4 separate regions of the Homo sapiens genome follow, and all the other regions are linked to region 4. Evidence: promoter capture Hi-C in 16 types of primary human blood cells and fetal thymus (Javierre and others, 2016). All regions are on one chromosome and are shown on one strand. The core of a region is centred on a gene start or on the middle of the fragment in contact, and the rest is flanking DNA. Distances in the headings are between cores, read along the strand shown.

Region 1 (4,485 bases), core at 229-2,728, 99 kb after region 4:
TGCACAAGCACCCAATGTTCACACAAGTAAGGTCCACGAGCATGCACATATCATGCAGGCCCACGCGGGACAGGCAGTGGGTGGCCTTGTCATCAGCCACTCCCTGCTGAGGGTGACGGCCTCGGGCTCTGCAGCAGAGAGATACTGAGGGCATGCTTCCCAGTCAGGGAAGGCCAGGCGGATGGGGAACTGCTTGATGACACTTGGAGAAACAGGGTTGTAGCTCATCTACAGGACTTGGGAGGGGAGGAGTTGAAGAGGAGTTGCTGGGAAGACAAGGAGCAGCCACCAAACCTTCCGCGGGCTTCTGCGGCAGGACAGAGGGCCCACACCACTTCCATCCTTCTCCTTGGCTTCCTTCCCTTCCCACAGGAGGACCAGCTACAGCCTGGCCTAAAGCTTAGGAGGGCGACTGTGAATGGACACAGGAGCCAGCACCCTCGGGGCCTGACATCGCCCTCCTCAGCCCTCCAGCACCTGGTCTGGCAGTTTAGTATGTGACCTTTCTCCCTGGGATGTGGAGTCTTCGGCAACGTGTCCTGAAGGGACTGGCCCGCACTCCAGGACCCCACTTGGCATTTCTTGTCTGTTGCCTTCAGACTATCTCAGATAGGCCTGTGCCCCTGACTAGCCCAGTAGCACTTGTCTCTAGAAAAAGGAAGCTCCTGCCCAACCTGGCTTGTGGACCAGTAATATCTGTGGCCTACCACCCATTCAAGAAAACGTTACAGCCGGCTCACTGCAAAATCCGCCTCCCGGGTTCACGCCATTCTCCTGCCTCAGCCTCCCGAGTAGCTGGGACTACAGGTGCCCGCCACCACGCCCAGCTAATTTTTGTATTTTTAGTAGAGACGGGGTTTCACCGTGTTAGCCAGAATGGTTTCGATCTCCTGACCTCGTGATCCGCCCCGCCTCAGCCTCCCAAAGGCATGAGCCACCGTACTCGGCCTGCCCAGGCTGGTCTTAAACTCCTGGCCTCAGGTGATCCTACTGCCTCAGCCTCCTGAGTAGCTGGGATTACAGACACAGCCCCCGTTCCCAGCTCTAGCATTTCTTAAGGACAAAATTGGTGTGTAAGTAACAGGAAATTCACATTATGCTGTACTCATTCTCTAATATCACAGCCATGTTAGAACAAATTTGGGTTTTCAAAACAAGCGTAACTGAACAGAGTATATATATGTATGTATATAAATATATAGAAATCCTAAATGGTCCCTGTGACATAAGAAATACACATTTGGTCTCTGCCCCAGGTTCCTGGCACAGAGCTTCTAAAATGCTAGTAACTTCCTGAGTGGTAGGGGTGAGGGGAACATCTTTTGTTATACATAAGAAGCCCTTTTCAAACAGATCTGAGTTTATGCTAATGATGTGACTGGCAGAGGATGGGGGCTGGTTGCCAGAGAAACCAACCATGTGATTAGAAGGTTGAAACTTTCAGCCTTATCTTCCTACCGGGAGGGGACAGGGGCTGAAGACTGAGCTCATCATCAATGATTTAATCAATTGTGCCCATGTAATGGAGCCTCCACTTCCAAACGAAGGGTTTCAGAGAGCTTCTAGGTTGGTGAACACATCCATGTACCAGGAGGTCTACCCCACTCCACGGGGACAGAAACTCTTGTGTAGGGGACCCTTTTAGATTTCATTCTATATACCTCTTCAGCTGGCTGTTCATTTTATAATCAACCAATAAATGTTAAGTAAAGTGTTTCTCTGTGTTCTATGCATTATAGGAAATTATCGAATCTGAGGAGGGTTTTGTGGGAATCCCCTATTTGCAGCCAAGCTGGAGAGAAGTGTGTATCGCCTGGAGACCCACTACTTGCAACTGGTATTGGAAGTGGGGATCAGCCTGTTGGACTGAGCCCGTAACCTATTGGGTCTGCACTAACTCTGGGTAGTATCAGAACTGAATGAAATTGTAGGGTACCCAGTTATGTCCATAGAGAACTGAAGAATCGCTTGGTGTAGAAAAACCCACACATCTGATGTCAGAAGTGTTCTGTGGTTACAGAAAAAAATAGTTTCTCCTTTTAGTCTCATAAATATTAAAGGATTAAATAAATATTTAAAAATATTCCCACAAAGGGCCAGGGGCGGTGGCTCACGCCTGTAATCCCAGCACTTTGGGAGGCCGAGGCGGGCGGATCACGAGGTCAGGAGATCGAGACCATCTTGGCTAACATGGTGAAGCCCCATCTCTACTAAAAATACAAAAAATTAGCCGGGCGTTGTGGCAGGCGCCTGTAGTCCCAGCTACTCGGGAGGCTGAGGGAGGAGAATGGCATGAACCTGGGAGGCAGAGCTTGCAGTGAGCTGAGATCGCGCCGCTGTACTCCAGCCTGGGTGACAGGGCGAGACTCCATCTCAAAAAAAAAAAATAAAATAATAATAATAATAATAATAATATTCCCACAAAGAAAACATGAGACCAAATGATATTTCCAAGTTCTAGCAAACTTTCAATCAAGGATCATTCCTACCTCACACAAACTCCTCCACAGAGCAGAAAAAGAAGGCACACTCTGCTACTCATTCTATCAGGCCAGAGTAAGCTTCTTACCAAAACCAGCCAAGCACATTAAAAAGGAAAGAGGCCAGGTGTGATGGCTCAAGCCTGTAATCCTGGGACACTGGGAGGCCAAGGTGGGAGGGTCACTTGAGCCCAGGATTTCAAGAAAAGTCTGGGCAACAAAGGGAGACCCTATCTCTACAAAAAATTTTAAAAAAATTAGCTGGGTGTGGTGGCACACACCTGTAGTCCCAGCTACTTGCGGGGCTAAGGTAGGAGGACTGCTTGAGGCCAGGAGGTTGAGGCTGCAGTGAGCTGTGATAGTGCCACTCACTCTAGCCTGGGCAACAGAGCAAGCCCCTGTCTCAAAAATAAAAAAAGAATTTACGGGCTAATCTTACCCATTAACAGGGAAAGGAAGAATCTTAAACAAAATAATAGCAAAATGAGTAGCAACGTATAAAAAATAAATACACCATGAACATACTGGGTTTATTCCAAGAATGCAAAGTTTAGCATTAAAAAACCTATCGGCTGGGTGTGGTGGCTCACGCCTGCAATTCCAGCACCTTGGGAGGCCGAGGCGGGAACACGAGGTCAGGAGTTCAAGACCAGCATGGCCAAGATGGTGAAACCCCATCTCTACTAAAACTACAAAAATTAGCCAGGCACAGTGGCAGGCGCCTGTAATCCCAGCTACTCAGGAGGCTGAGGCAGGAGAATCGCCTGAACCCAGGCGGCAGAGGTTGCAGTGAGCCAAGATCACACCACTGCACTCCAGCCTGGGCGACAGAGAGAGACTCTGTCTCAAAAAAAGAACACAAAAAACCTGGCAAATGAAATTTACCACACAGAGCAATGCAGAGCATGAAGTCAGGAACTCTGCAGAGGGACCCCTCAATTATCCAGCAGAGGCTGGGCTCAGTGGCTCATGCCTGTAATCCCAGCACTTGGGAGGCTGAGGTAGGCAGATCACTTGAGATCAGGAGTTTGAGACCAGCCTGGCCAATATGGTGAAACCCCATCTCTACTAAAAATACAAAAATTAGATGGGTGTGGTGGCGGGCACCTGTAATCCGAGCTACCCAGGAGGCTGAGACAGGAGAATGGTTTGAACCCGGGAGTTGGAGGTTGCAGTGAGCCAAGATTGTGCCAATGCACTCCAGCCTGGGCGACAGAGTAAGACTCCGTCTCAAAAAACAACAACAACAACAACAAAAACCCCCCAAACAAATAAAATTATCCAGCAGAATACTGATTAAAGACATAAATATGAAGACAAAACTTCCATAAAAAGGAAGATAGGTAAATGTGTGGCTTCCTTAAAATTAAAATGTTTGTCCAACACACAAGGTATAAAGAAAGAGGAGGCCGGCAGGAGTTCGAGACTATCCTGGCCAACATGGTGAAACCCCGTCTCTACTAAAAATACAAGCATTAGCCAGGCGAGGTGGTGCATGACTGTAGAACATTAAACAATCCTTTGAAGAATTTAGCTCTTTTCTCCCTGCCTCCAAAGCCAGCAAATATGAGATTATTTTCTATTGTTCCAGTGACTGTAATAATAGCAGAGGTCAAGGAAACATCTCTTGTATGAGAGTTGTCATGGAATCAGATTTGTTGTAAAGAACCATTTATATTCTGGACTGTCCACCAGAAGAAGGAATACAGACAACATATGCATATATAACTGCAAGATTATTGCCGGTTCCTCTATAGCAGCAATAATCGCAAAGAAAATACTACCAAAACATCCAAAACAGCCACAATAACCATTAGTGATTTTATTGAAGACTTATTCACAGTATTTTGACCTGAGAAATGGTGATTTTAACATACCCTTTTAGGTGCCCACATTGATCTTAGTTAACAGTCTTGTAGTTCCCTCTTTAGGCTTCAAGATAATTGTGATTTCATCGCACCCCAGATACTTCCAAGTGGAGCCAGGCCTCAGACTGTTCTCAGTC
Region 2 (4,304 bases), core at 1,014-3,513, 110 kb before region 4:
GTCTCCAAAAAAAAAAAAAAAAAGTTTGGAATGTGTACTGAAGACAATGGGGAAGCATTAAGATACTTTAGAGGAACAAGATAATCATATACATGTTTAGGGAAGATAACTCTATCTCAGCATTGTCAGTATGGGAAAGGGTTTTGAAAGAAGGCAAATGAGAGGAAAGATAATCAGGCATCTGCTATAGTAACCCAGGCATGACATGTGAATGACAGTTCAACAAGAATAGTGTTAGAGAAAGAAGGAATAGCCTGCGATGAGACTTACTTAGTAAGAAAAATCAGAAAGACTTGGTCATTGACTAGACAAAGAAAGAAATAAAAGGAAAGAAGTTGAGAATGATGTCAAATTCTAGCTGAGACAACTGAATGAATGATGGCTCATAGGAGTCACAGGAAGAGAAGGGGCGTATGATACAGTCCAGCTATGTACGGAAAGATCCATGGTACAACAAAGGGGAGATGGGCCACTGGTCAGGGTCTGAAGCTCAAGAGCAATCTAGGCTTGAGAACAAAATGGTAGTCATTAACACAGAGATTTTTAAAAAATGAGAAAATATAAATGAAAATAATGATGGACATCTTTTATCTGTTAGATTAATAAACCAAAAATTAATTGTAATGCCCATTATCAATGAGAGGATGGCAAAATTGATATCCTCACAACTAGTGGAAGAAAAGCACAACTTTTCTGAAATTATATGTGATAGATCTAAATATGCCAAAATGTATGCCCAAAAGTATTCAATAACTCACTCCACTCCTAGGGATTCCCCAGCCTCTTACTATCTTCTACATTTTTTCCCCATAGTACTTATCTTCTAACAGTTTATCTATCTAGCAAGCTATTACATTTATTATTTTACTGAATGTCTCCTCTGTTTAAAAATATAAGTTAAATGAGGGCCAGGATCTTACCCTATTTTGTTCACTGACCTACCCCAACTACCCAGGACAATGTCTGGAACATGATGGGCACTTTTACAAAACATTTGAATGAGTGAATGAATATATGAAAGAACAAATGAACAAGTCAACTAAACAAAAAGATATTATATTCATCTATCTGGTTTGTAAAGATTTTAAAAGACAGTGCTCAGAATTGACAATGGTATAAGAAAAATACTACTCTCATACATTAGTATGAGAAATGTAAACTAGTACAAGCCTTCTGGAAAGCAATTTAACAATCTGTGTCAACATGTTAAATGTATACACTCTTTGACACAGCAATTGCAGTTCTTAAAATTTACCTTATGCTTTGAATCAGATAGTGGTGTAAAGATGTATACTTAGAAACAAGTCTATTGTTCATAAAAGAAGAAACTTGAAAACTTCAAATTTTACCAATAAGGGTCTATAAATTATGGAATATCCAAAGTGTAAGATAATATGCAGCTATCTTAAAACAGTCATATTAAACATACACTGACATGAAATAATATTCCCAACATAGTGGATGAAAAAGTAAGTTATATTAACAACTTATAGGAGGATATAATCCAGATAATGTATGGGTCTATACATTATACATGCATAGAGAGGACATGGAAGTGTGGTCACCAAAACTTTAACAAATATTACCTGCAGGTGCTGGGGCTTTAATTTTTACTTTCTTCTTTATGCTCTTCTTTATTACTTGAATTTTCTACAGTGTATATCATCTTTCTAATCAGAAAAAACAAAGCTATTTTCATTTGAAAAACCTCAGAAAATTCTGTTTCTAGTCACCCTTATGGTAATATAAAGTAAGAAAGAAAATTTATTTTCCATCATAAAGCTTCTCTACCAGATTGGTAAACCTTAACTATCTTGACTTCTCCTTTATATTAAATGTAAAAAAGAAAAGGTTTCAACATTGTTTCAGGAGACTATTCCCAGAAATTCACCAGCAATACCCAGGCTAGTGTGACTGAAAACCAGCACTAAAGTTATGCTTTATTCTGGCCGAGCACCTTTTCTTCTGCATTGATCTGTAATGCTAACGTATCTTGCTCAAACAGAAAACTAAACCAACCAAACAAAAAAGACTATATGTTGCCCATACTAAAGGCCTTAATTCTAAAGTGTATGCTTCTTGGAGAGTGTGAAATATATGGCTTAACTTACCTAAAGAAGCAATGCAATTCCCTAGCTACTTATTAAGCTCAGAAATAACTTGGAAAAATATGGTCTTAGGAAACAGCACAGAGTCTGGCTCTGCCACCTGCTAGCAACAGGATCATGGGCAATTTATTTAACTTCTGTGTGCTTCACTTTCCTCATCTATAAAATGAAGATACCACAAATGCAATATGATTGTTAAGGGGCCTATATATATTACTGAATATGAAGCACAGATCTTTACATACCAAGCAAGTATCTAATTTGTAAAAAGCACTCAGATGCAAACTCCCATCCCTTCATAATGAAAAGGACAGCAAATATCACTACTTCTCCTGTGAAACCTTCCCAGACTTCCAGCAGAATTAGTTCTGCTTTCACAGCACTTTCGCCATATTGAAATGTTTGTCACCCCCAACCATGAGACCTTCTCCAAAGTAAGAACTATGTTATATCTTATTCATGCTTATGTTTTCAGCATCTCATACAATGCCTGGCATAGGGTAAACAAAGAAAAATTGGACAAATGGGTAGGTGAATAAAGAAATAAGTGAATAATTATTATTAAAACATCTAAAAAATGCTTATTCTAGCATATAGCTGTCTCATTATTTAATCAAAGTCAAATGAATGAACTAGAAAAGCTTATGTAAAGGAAGCTAAAATTAAACCAATTCTTTCAGAAAAGCTAAAACAAAATGAGCCATACCAATGTTTCACATTAAATCAGTGGCAGGAAATGTCCTCAATAAAAAGTCAAACTTAACACTGTACATGATACTTTCTAATATCAAAATCTATTTCTGTATTCCTTTATTGACGACAATTATCTTATAAAATTAAACACGTCTTTTGATACTTACTTAGTTTCTGCTACTACATAATACAAATCCAAATAACTATAACTGTCAAACACACATAAACACACACACACACACATTACACACACACACACACACACACACATTACACACACACACACACACAGAGAGAGAGAAGGAGGGAGGGAAGAAGAGAGGGAGAGGGAGAGACGGAGGGAGGGAAGAAGAGAGGGAGAGGGAGGGAGGGAAGAAGAGAGGGAGGGAGGGAGGGAAGAAGAGAGGGAGACGGAGGGAGGGAGGGAAGAAGAGAGGGAGGGGGGAGAGAGAGAGAGAGAAAGAGAGAGAGACAGAGAGACACAGACGCACAGGCTAGCCAGGTGAAAAGCAAAAAAAAAAAAAAAAAAAAAAAAATTGGCTTTCCCATAACTATCAATAAAACAAATCTGTAAAATGCTGGAATAGCCTATAAAAAAACTTCCCCAAGAGCATAAAAGAAAGGATCTGGAGAAGAAGAAAAAAACTTACAAAGAGTTTGCTATTAAAGAACATATGAAGAAAAAAAGAGGAGATGAAAGTAATTTAGGCTCATTTTTAAAAATGAAAAACAAGAAAGGGTTATCAATGCAAATAATCAAATCAACATTTCACCAAAATCTACATGGGAAAACTTCAAGTTGGAGACTTAAATTTGTTCAAAATATTAAAAGTACACACAATCCGGCCTCTTCTAATAGAAGTGCTATTAGATCTACCTGACTGAAGCTTTATGGTCCTTCAACTATGGGGCTAATTATGTAAATGCAAGTAAAGATGCTGTTAGTATTTGAAAACTATTTGGCCTCTTAATTTAAAATTACATTTGCACTAAAAGTGTTTACCTATTATAGTGCACAGCAAAACTTGCTTTAACACAGATAATAAAAGGGTAAATGTAAATTGAAAAATCATAAAATCCAAATTATGCAAGTATAATGTTTCTAGAAAATCAAAAAGTTATTTAATTACTGAACAATTTCTAAATCGAAATCTCTTTAGCAGCCTTAGAGACCTAAATGATCATCTAAAGTTTATTACAAATTAAAGTATTCCAGATCATGGCAAATATTTCATTTCTGCCCATTTTAGTTTAAAGAAAAAGCAATAAAGTTGGGGCTCATGAGTTGACTTTCTAAGGGTAAGCTTTCCTCTGCCTCCATGGGGGAAAAAATTTACACCATTACTTTAAAAAAAAGTAAACTTAGCCAGGTACAGTGGCATACGCCTATAATCCCAGCACTTCGGGAGTCCAAAGCGGGAAGAGCACCTGAGATTCGAGACCAGCCTGGACAACATAGTGAAACCCCATCTCTACTAAAAATGCAAAAATTAGCTGGGCGTG
Region 3 (4,934 bases), core at 1,675-4,174, 83 kb after region 4:
TCTCATCACTCTGTAGACTTGGGGTCTCAGGGTAGCTGCACTAGCACCAGCCGACACATTTGTATTTCAGCCAATAGGAAGAAGCAGATATCTTTCCTTTTAAACAGCTTTATTGAGATGTAATTCACATGCTGTGCAATTCACCCATTTAAAGTATACAATTCAGGCTAGGCCGATGGCTCACTGTAATCCCAGCACTTTGGGAGGCCGAGGTGGATCACCTGAGGATCAGGAGTTCAAGACCAGCCTGGCCAACATGGTGAAAGCACATCTCTACTACAAATACAAAAATTAGCCGGGAGTGGTGGCACATGCCTGTAATCCCAGCTACTCGGGAGGCTGAAACAGGAGAATCACTTGAACCCGGGAGGTGGGGGTTGCAGTGAGCCGAGATCGTGCCCCGGCATTCCAGCCTGGGCAACAAGACTCTGTCTCAAAAAAATAAATAAATAAAAATAAAGTATACAATTCAATGGTTTTTAGTGTATTTATAGGGTTGTGCAACCATCACAATTTAACTTTAGAAAATGTTTGTCCATTCTAAAACCTCACATGCCTTAGCAGTAACTCCCTAGCCCAGTCCCAAGCAACTACAAATGTACATTCTGTCACTCTCTATTTGCCTATTCTAGACATTTGACATAAATGGAATAATACAATTTGTAGTCTTGTGACTGGCTTCTTTTACTTAGCATACTGTCATCAAGGTTCATCTGTGTTGTAGCATGCATTGGTCCTTCATTCCTTTTTCTTGCCCAACAGTAGTCCATTGTATGGATATACCACATTATATTTATTCATTCATAACCTGATGGACATTGGCTTGTGTCCTCTTTGGCATATATATATACACACACACATTATATATATATGTATATATATATGAATGCTGCTAATGAACATTCATGTTCAAGATTTTATGTGAACATGTTTTCATTTCTGTAGGGTGTATACACCTAAGAGTGGAATTGCGGGTCATGTGGTAATTCCACGTTTTACTTTGAGAAACTGCCAAACTTTTCCAAAGGACTGTCACTAGTTTCCATTCCCACTAGCAGTGTATAGGGGTTCTGATTTCTCCACATCCTCCCCAATACTTGTCTCATTTTAATTACAGCCACCCTGTGGATATGAAATGGTGTCTCACTGTAGTTTCGATTTGTATTTCCATGTGCTTACTGTTCATTTGTATATCTTTAGAGAAATATCCAAATTCTTTGCCCATTTTAGAATTGGATTGTCTTTTAATTGTTGAGTTGTGAAAGTTGATTCCAATACAAATCCCTTTTCTCCCATTCTGTGGGTTGTCTTTATACCCACTTGTTGGAATCGTTTACAGCACAAAGGTTTTCATTTTGAAAACTTTTGTAGTTCATCCAGCTTGTGCTTTTGGCGTCCTAAGAAACAATTGCCTGGCCCAATATGATGAAGAGTTGCTTCTGGGTTTTTTGTGTTTGGTTGGTTTTGTTTTTGTTTTTGTTTTTGAGACAGAGTCTCCCTCTGTCACCCAGGCTGGAATGCAGTGGCACGATCTTGGCTCACTGCAATCTCCGCCTCCCGGGTTCAAGCGATTCTCCTGCCTCAGCCTGCCGAGTAGCTGGGATTACAGGCATGAGCCACCGTGCCTGTCCCTTGCTCCTGTTTTTTCATAAGTTTTACATTCTAGGTCTATGATGCATTTTTAGTTAATGTGTACCCCTGTTACTGGTGGAAGGTATCTGAGTCACGTGGCACCAAAATATGTCAGCAGGAGTGAATCTATATGGGTCTGCAGCAACCTCAGTTCCTGCCTCCTCAGAAGAAAGAATTCCACTGAGGGGCATAAGGCAGAAGGAGAGACTGAGGCAAGTTTTAGAGCAGGAATAAAAGTTTATTAAAAAGCTCTACAGCAGAAATGGAAGGAAGGAAAGTACACTTGGAAGAGGGCCAAGCGGGTGACCTGAAAAAGAAGCGCACAGTTTGACCTTTTGACCTGGGGTCTTATGCATTGGCATACTTCTGGGGTCTTGCATCCCTTCTCCCCTGATTCTTCCCTTGGGAGGCCTGCCTGCATGGGCAGTGGTCTGCCAGCACTTGGGAGGGGAGTGTGCACACTGTGTATACTGGAGTTGTACCCATGCTCACTGGAGGCGTTCTTCCCTTACCAGTCCGGTGTCCTTCGAGGGTCACATGTCAGTTAAACTCCGCAATTTGTGTAAGCCCACTTGCCCAGCTCCTGAGATCTTACCGAGAAGCTGATCACCAGTTTCAGGTTTTCTCTATCTATTGGGAGACTGCCTTTCCCTGGCCCCGCTGGATCAATGATCATTTTAGAGGGAGCATAACAACCGCCTGACTGTCGCCTGATGGTTGCCTGACGTACCTGGTTGGAAGCGTGGCCCTCTCCTGCCCTTTTCGAGGCTGACTAGCTACCTGCTGTCACCCCCCTTCCCTTTTAAGGACTTTTCTGGAATGTTGGCCTGTGCCACCTGCTTTTATTCGCTGGCCAGAACTTAGTTACTGGCCATCCCCGTGGTCTGTATAGGAGACTCGACAATGTATATTTCAGGCGTTGGGCATCATGTGTAGCCGGCGGAATGCCTGTTCAGCCATGGTCCAGCCTGAACGAGCGGGCCTCTTGCTTCATTTTGCAGGGGAGCTGCTGCTTGCCCGCGGTCACCCCAGCGGTCTGGCGGAGCCCTTAGCGCGCAGGGCCGCCGTCTGCGGGCGCTCACGCCCCCGGGGATCCACCCCAAGGAGAACGGTCCTGAGGGCCTGCCGGGCCTTTCCCCCCGCGGATTTTGGTTCTTCGCTGTTTCCCTTTGGGGTGCCCTTCGCGGTTTCTGCGTTTCCCCCGCGTTGCCAGCAGCCACTCGCGCCGCGCCCCTAGCCCAGAACCGCCCCTCCCAAGGGCGATAACCCCGAGGGCAACGGCCGCGGGCGGCGCTGCGGTGGCAATGGCGGCGCCCCCTGCACCAGCCGCCAAGGGGTCCCCGCAGCCGGAGCCGCACGCCCCAGAGCCCGGCCCGGGGAGCGCCAAGCGAGGGCGAGAGGTGAGCGGGGCGGCGGGGACCGGGAAGGGGCTGCGTCCTCGGGGAGCTCCAGGGCGTCGCCTCGCAGCCCCTTTTCCAGCTGGGGGCAGCCCGGAGGGGCTCGGCCCAAACCTGCCAGCTCAGGGGCTGCCCTCGCGGGGTTACACGGCTGGGAGCGGGGAGGCTGGTAGGTGCCGGCGCCGGAAAGAGACTAGGACGGGAAGCCTAGCCCTAGCCAAGGAAGTAACTTGGGGATGCGTGGTCATTGCTGTCCTGATTCCCGGCTTAGGGGTCTTGTCCGTGCCACCGCAGGTCCTCCCGGGGTCCCCGAGCTCTGGGCAGGCAGGGCTTTCTGAAGCGCCTGGGGAGGCTGCGTCCTTCCCGACCTCAGGCAGCTGCTGTGGCCTCGGCCTCCCTCCCAGACCCTGGCCTCGCCCAGGCACCAGGCTCCCCTTGGAGGCAGCCTCAGGGAAGGTCCTGGCCATGGGCTCCGACAAGAAGGGAGGAGGGCAGGTGGGAGCGGCGGGGTCTTCGGGGCCCCTTGTCCCTTGCCCGATGCCGCCGGGCCGTGCTGGCCAGTGGGGCTGTGCTGGACGGAGCAAGGGGCCTGGGGCTTCCTGGGCCTCACTGAACGCGCCTGCTCCCTGCTCGTGCCCAGGGCATTCTGTGGCCTCCCCTGACCACCTCAGCCCCCAGCCTGTTCAGGGCTTCCTACGAGGCACCTGGGAGCACAGGATTGCATCCCACAAGAAAGTGAGGTGAGATGAAGGGGCTCTCCGGGGACTCTCACTTCCCAGGGAAACTTAGAAATTCAGGGTGAGATTAACAGCAAGAGGGAAACACTCGCATTGCTGATGAAGTTCCGGCGTGGAATCCTCTTACGACTCTCCGAGGGGTGGCAGCCCCGGTCACTCCAAGGAGACCGAGGTGCCCTGCCCTGGGTCACGCAGCTAGAGATAGCAGGGCTGCGCCCCTCGCCCGGAGCCGCCCCTCCCAAGGGGCTTCTCCTTGTACAGCTCACTGTACAGCTGTACCGGGCTTTTATGACTTTCGGTAAAACTGTCATCCTCAAGACGGCAAGATGGGATCATATCCCTGGCTTCACTTGGAAGTTCTTTCTAAAGTTCTAAAAACTTGCTAGGCCTGTTTTGGGGGATACAAGAGTCCCCATTAGGGGGAGAGGGGGACTGTCACGTTGAATTCTGCCTGTTCTTAAAGTTTTCTGGAAGCTGAAATGATGTTCACACAAATGTCAGAAAAGAATCATCCTGCCCCCAGTGTGGTTTTCCCCTGTGGGTAGGAAGAGTGTGCAAAGTGTGATAAACCCTTATCTGGGGAGACCTTCCCTTCACAAGAGCCTGCTGGGGTGTCCTGCAAGATGTGGAAATGGGTGAAGCCATGTCATCTCCACTCCCTCCAGCCCCCAGCAAACGATGAGAAAAGAGCCCAGCTTCTTCCAAAGAAACAGCACTTTACACAGGGTCTTCATGGCCATTTATTGCTTCAACGGATATATACTAAGCACCTACTGTATACCAAGCTTTGTTCTAGGTACTGGAAACACCATGATAAATAAAAGGTGGAGTTCATGCTCTCAGAGAGCTTACATTCCTGTAGGGAGAGGCAGGAACTAAATGAAAATATAGCAGGCGGTAAGTACAACTGAGAGAGGTGAGAGGTTAGGGAATGCCTCTTGGAGGAGGTGACATTTAAGCTGGTGACATCAAACCAGAATGACAAGGAGTCACCTTCCAGGCAGAGGAATGGGAAGGGCAAAGGCCCTGAGGCAGCAACAGACTTGATGATTTTGAGGAATAGGAAGGAGCCCGGCGTGGCTGAAGGAGAGCTATTTGAGGTGAGGTGGGTAGGGGGCCGACTGGGTGGACTCCTTAGCCATGATCAGGACTTGGAGTTTTATTCAAA
Region 4 (4,535 bases), core at 2,019-4,518:
GGGGGAAAAATAGGCATCAAGTGTAGTTAGTTAAGAACATGGCACAGGCTGGGCGCGGTGGCTCACGCCTGTAATCCCAGCACTTTGGGAGGCCGAGGCGGGCTGATGACGAGGTCAGGAGATCGACACCATCCTGGCTAACACCGTGAAACCCCGTCTCTAATAAAAATACAAAAAAATTAGCCGGGCGTGGTGGCGGGCGCCTGTAGTCCCAGCTACTCGGGAGGCTGAGGCAGGAGAATGGCGTGAACCCCGGGGGGCGGAGCCTGCAGTGAGCCGAGATCGCGCCACTGCACTCCAGCCTGGGCTACAGCGAGACTCCGTCTCAAAAAAAAACAAACAAACAAACATGGCACAAAAGCAGAAAAAGGAGAAACTCCTCAATTACAAACAGGAATATTATGTTACAAACAGGAATACATTTCTTTCTACAAAAATAAGGGTCTGCGAAAGCAACAACACGGGCAACCCCATTTTGCACCAAATGAGACTTTACAGACACTGGCAAATGCTTATTACAGACCCCACAGACATAGAGGGTGTCTTTAAGTACTCCAGAAAGGGTGAACCAGGAGTGCTAAATTCCTACAAAACTGGAGAAGAGCTAACCAGAAATATACAACCTGCTTCATAAATATATAGTCCATAAACTTAATAAATTCAGAATTATAATTTATCCTCTTCTAAAGGTCCAATCACTATGTAAGAGTAGTTACGTCTCTAAAAAAACCTTTCAGAGAAAGCAATTAGATGACTACATCATCTCCTAGAGCCGAACATAAATCTTCTTAAGACTGAAAAACAAATATTTCAAAGTAAATCTTTAGTACCCTGTTATTTATGGTGCTTTAAAACATTTTAAAAGGATCTTTGAAACAAAGTTTCATTAGTACCCTTCTACAAAGAGCTCTCATATCTTTCATTCTTTTAGCAATTTAAAAGCTACCAAATGTTCATTTCCTCATTAGATTATTGATTCCTAGCCTTTTAACATCTCTATAACAGCTGCTTGACAAATTACCTCACCTTATTCCTCGGGGGGTGAGGACAGCATGATATCCATGAATTCAAAAATGGGACCACAAACTGATGAGTGAAGATGAGCTAATTGCTTCAGATGAGTTAGACACTGCTCTAACAGACTAGGCATTCACATAGCATGATACGATTAAATGCTTACACCCTAAATATTTTCTTTGTCCTTAAATGTACAGAAAAGATCTTTTCTTAAATTGAGTTTTATTTTAAAATATGTGATAGCCTCAGTAGGTCAAGAAGCTTGAACATGTTTGGAATAGTTTCCACCGAAAGCCTCGTCTTCAAAGTACTTATTCTCAACAGTTTGCACAACTTTCAGATTTAACCTTATTTCAACCTAAGAGAGCTGTAAGCCCCCAAAATAGTCTATTAAATAGGACGTTATAATGCCCAAAATTTTATCAAAGAAAAGCCAAAACGATTTTCAAAGATATAATAAAAATATTTCAGAGTAGTATGGTAAAATATTCCTGTCTCTGCCTAGATCCATTCTGTTAGTGTCAAAACAGTGTAAGACACAAAGAAAAGCACACACAAACCGCGATCTTGTAGACCCCTAGAACATAAAATATTGCTTTCCCCCAATAAGAACCACAAAATGGTGTGGAATTAAAGGAGCATTTTAAATGAACAGCTTTTTCCAGCCAAATTACTTAGCAAGTCAACCTCTTTTAGACAGAAGCAATACACTCTTCTCTGAATTCAGAAACAATCTCATAGTAAAACAAACGTGTCAATTCCTTTAAAACAATAAATATCTGTGCTTAGCTTTATAATGTAGGTAATAAAATTTCAAGATCTTTCAATCAGTTTTTTAATTCAATCACCAGCGTCTTTAAATGTCATTTTTGCAACTGCATGACTATGGTGTTCATTCACCTTTTGTAATATAGTCCCATAACAAAAATGTAGACACCCAAGAAACCACACAGTTTTGGCATGATGGTGCTGACTATCCGAAACATTCCACTTGTTTCTTTCGACGTGCTCCTTCTGTGACCTGAAAGCTCTGGTTCCTACTAGCACCTTGGTGAGCTAGCTGGCTGGTTCCCCAGCTATAATATCATGTTTGATCTCTCCTGCCTGGAGAGGCGATAGCGTTGATTTTGTTTTTAAAGTTGGTGTCAGAGCAGCTACAAACTTTTTTCAGCATCCCTGCCTGGCTGCCAACTGGAGCTCTCTGTTCACTTCCTCACCAACTTGAACCACCCCCAAACTGAGAGTAAGCTGGAGTTAGACAGCGGCAGGAACTGACACACTTTCAAGAAGGGTTTGACACCGCAGAAAACTTTCACTTCTCCAACCCTTCCACCCAGGGGCTCTGGCCCTTCGCTCTTGCTTCCCCGCTAGAATTCCCCTCTGGGGCAGGACAAGGACACGGACAGCAGATCGTTCGAATGACGCCGAAAGGGACCCCCAAAGCCCTCTCCCCTGGACTCAAGGGCTGTTCTTCACACAAAAGAGCCGGGCCAGCTTGAAAAGCAAAGGGGCCAGCGTCGCGGCCCTTCTCTGGGTGCCACCCTCCACCGCGCCCGCAGACCCTGTCTCCAGCCGCCCGAGCGGTCTCCACTGTAGGCTTCCTACCCCCAACCCGGCCAGACAAAGCCCCGGCAGCAGGGCCGGCACTTCCGAGCCTCCGGACTCGGGACGCCGCGCTCTTACCCTGGCCTCATCCAGAGTGACGCCGGCGCCACCGCTTCCCCCGGCTTTGGCGGCGGGGCAGCTGGCGGCGCGGGTCTTGGAGGAGCGGGTCCGAGAGGAGATGAAATGGCTGCTGCCTCCGGTCGCCCCAGGCTCTGCTCCGGCCCCAGGCCCAGGCCCGGGACCAGGAGACTTGGACCCGAGAAGGCGGAGAGAGCTCTTCCGGGTGTTCACCATGGTCCAGCCAGGGGGACGGAGTCCACGCCGCGCCCGGGAGAGCCGAGCAAGGCCGGCCCGCCGGCCGGTCAGTCAGGGCCAGCGGAGCCGAGCCGGGCAATGAGAGACGAGCCGGCCCGGAGCGTGCGGAGCGCAGACGAGCACAAGAGAGAGCCGGGCAGAGGAAGGGAAGTCGGCGTGAGCAGGCGGCGTGCGGGAAGCGGGGGCGGTGCTGCAGACCGGCAGCACAGACACTCCGCCGGCTTCGCCCTCCTCAGCGGGAGCCGAGCGGAGCCGCCATTTCTACCCCTTTCTCTCCCGTTCTCGCTCTCGAGCTCCGTGCGTCAAGGCTCCAGCGCCGCAGGGCCAACGAGACCGCTTCCGGCCGCAGCCACGGCGGGGCGCTGCGAAGCCGGCCAGCCCTTCCCGGCTGCTCGCTCCTCTCCCTGCCGCCTCCAGCTGCCCCGCCCCCGGCGCGGCGTCAGCGCTCGGCGGCCGGGGAGCGACGCTCTAGGCTGTCAGCTCGGTGGTTTCCAGCTCTCCCCGACCGCAGGGCTGGGGCGACCAGAAAAGCCAGACTAATCAGGACGAGTTCGGGCGTGGAATTGGGCCTGAAGCCCTCATGCCCAGCCAGGCCTGAATGCCCCAGACCCCACCGTCACCCCCGTGGCCTGGATGGAGCAGGGGACGGCCGGCGAAGGCGCGGGGTGGAAGGGGAGCGGCGACGAAGGCGCGAGGAGCTGACTGGGAATCCCCAAGCTACCCGAGGCAAGACACTGAACTTGAGTCGCACTTTTCATGCCTGTAGAAATGAGAATGACAGCTGTGATAAAAAAAAAATTCATCTGGGCGGTATCTGGAACTTGGTAAGCTTAAGAAGAGAAGGGGGGGGGGAAACACCATGCTAGAACTCTGCGTTTTTAAACAAAGCGAGGCAGGGTCGTTTTCTATCCCCTTAGCCAGATCTAAGGCGGAGCCAAAGAATGAGTACCCTGTAAGAGCCGCCTCTATCGCCGCCCCCTGCCCCCGGCCCGCTGAAGAATTAAGAATACAAAAAGCTGAACCCACAGATAAAGCATTTGCAATTTAACTTCCAAAGAAAAAAAAATTAAGCCACACAATTCATATGAAAAGCTCTGCTGTAGGCCGGGTGCGGTGGCTCAAGCCTGTAATCCCAGTACTTTGGGAGGCCGGGGTGGGTGGATCACCTGAGGTCAAGAGTTCTAGATCAGCCTTACCAACATGGTGAAACCCTGTCTCCACTAAAAATACAAAAAATCGATGGGTGTTGTGGTGGGCACCTGTAATCCCAGCTGCTCGGGAAGCTGAGGCATGAGAACCACTTGAACCCAGAAGATGGAGGTTGCAGTGAGCCGAAATCACGCCACTGCACTCCAGCCTGGATGACAGAGCCAGACCCTGTCTCAGAAAAAAAAAAAAGAAGAAAGAGAGAGAGAAAGGAAGAAAGAAAGGAAAGAAAGAAAGAAAAAGAAAGAAAGAAAAGCTCTGCTGTAAAGTAGGAATTAGGTTCATTTCAAAAATTCACAGTACAGGCCGGGCTTACGCCTGTAATCCCAGCACTTTGGGAGGCCAAGGCGGGCGGATCACTTGAGGTCAGGAGTTCGAGACCAACCTGGCCA

What was found. Contacts are between HindIII fragments. The CHiCAGO score rates a contact against its expected background, and 5 or more counts as called.
Region 1: a fragment that was not itself captured here is called in contact with the fragment with the promoter of ATAD2B in region 4 in 1 of 17 cell types (megakaryocytes); the score reaches 5.2 in megakaryocytes.
Region 2: a fragment that was not itself captured here is called in contact with the fragment with the promoter of ATAD2B in region 4 in 7 of 17 cell types (megakaryocytes, naive B cells, endothelial precursors and 4 more); the score reaches 9.5 in megakaryocytes.
Region 3: the fragment with the promoter of MFSD2B here is called in contact with the fragment with the promoter of ATAD2B in region 4 in 2 of 17 cell types (megakaryocytes and erythroblasts); the score reaches 10.5 in megakaryocytes.

The regions. Positions count from the first base shown.
Region 1 is chr2:24,025,060-24,029,544 of GRCh38, forward strand. It overlaps MFSD2B (MFSD2 lysolipid transporter B, sphingolipid), which reads left to right. Exons shown (of 14, transcript NM_001346880.2): 14 at 373-1,716. The coding sequence ends at 397. It overlaps WDCP (WD repeat and coiled coil containing), which reads right to left. Exons shown (of 4, transcript NM_025203.3): 4 at 4,288-4,485. Among named protein-coding and RNA genes, the nearest start is that of MFSD2B, 17 kb to the left of the region's middle. The HindIII fragment of the contact is 2,162 bases long and covers 398-2,559 here.
Region 2 is chr2:23,815,051-23,819,354 of GRCh38, forward strand. The region is part of intron 17 of ATAD2B (ATPase family AAA domain containing 2B); the gene reads right to left. Among named protein-coding and RNA genes, the nearest start is that of ATAD2B, 110 kb to the right of the region's middle. The HindIII fragment of the contact is 967 bases long and covers 1,781-2,747 here.
Region 3 is chr2:24,007,161-24,012,094 of GRCh38, forward strand. It overlaps MFSD2B (MFSD2 lysolipid transporter B, sphingolipid), which reads left to right and starts at 2,925. Exons shown (of 14, transcript NM_001346880.2): 1 at 2,925-3,032. The coding sequence starts at 2,937. The HindIII fragment of the contact is 4,987 bases long and covers 1-4,549 here.
Region 4 is chr2:23,923,855-23,928,389 of GRCh38, forward strand. ATAD2B (ATPase family AAA domain containing 2B) reads right to left here and starts at 3,269. Exons shown (of 28, transcript NM_017552.4): 1 at 2,701-3,269. The coding sequence starts at 2,916. It also overlaps a transcript of UBXN2A not described here. RefSeq lists enhancers at 1,936-2,185, 2,284-3,202, 2,396-2,445, 3,203-4,119, 3,706-3,795 and silencers at 2,926-3,005, 3,206-3,535. The HindIII fragment of the contact is 2,488 bases long and covers 1,277-3,764 here.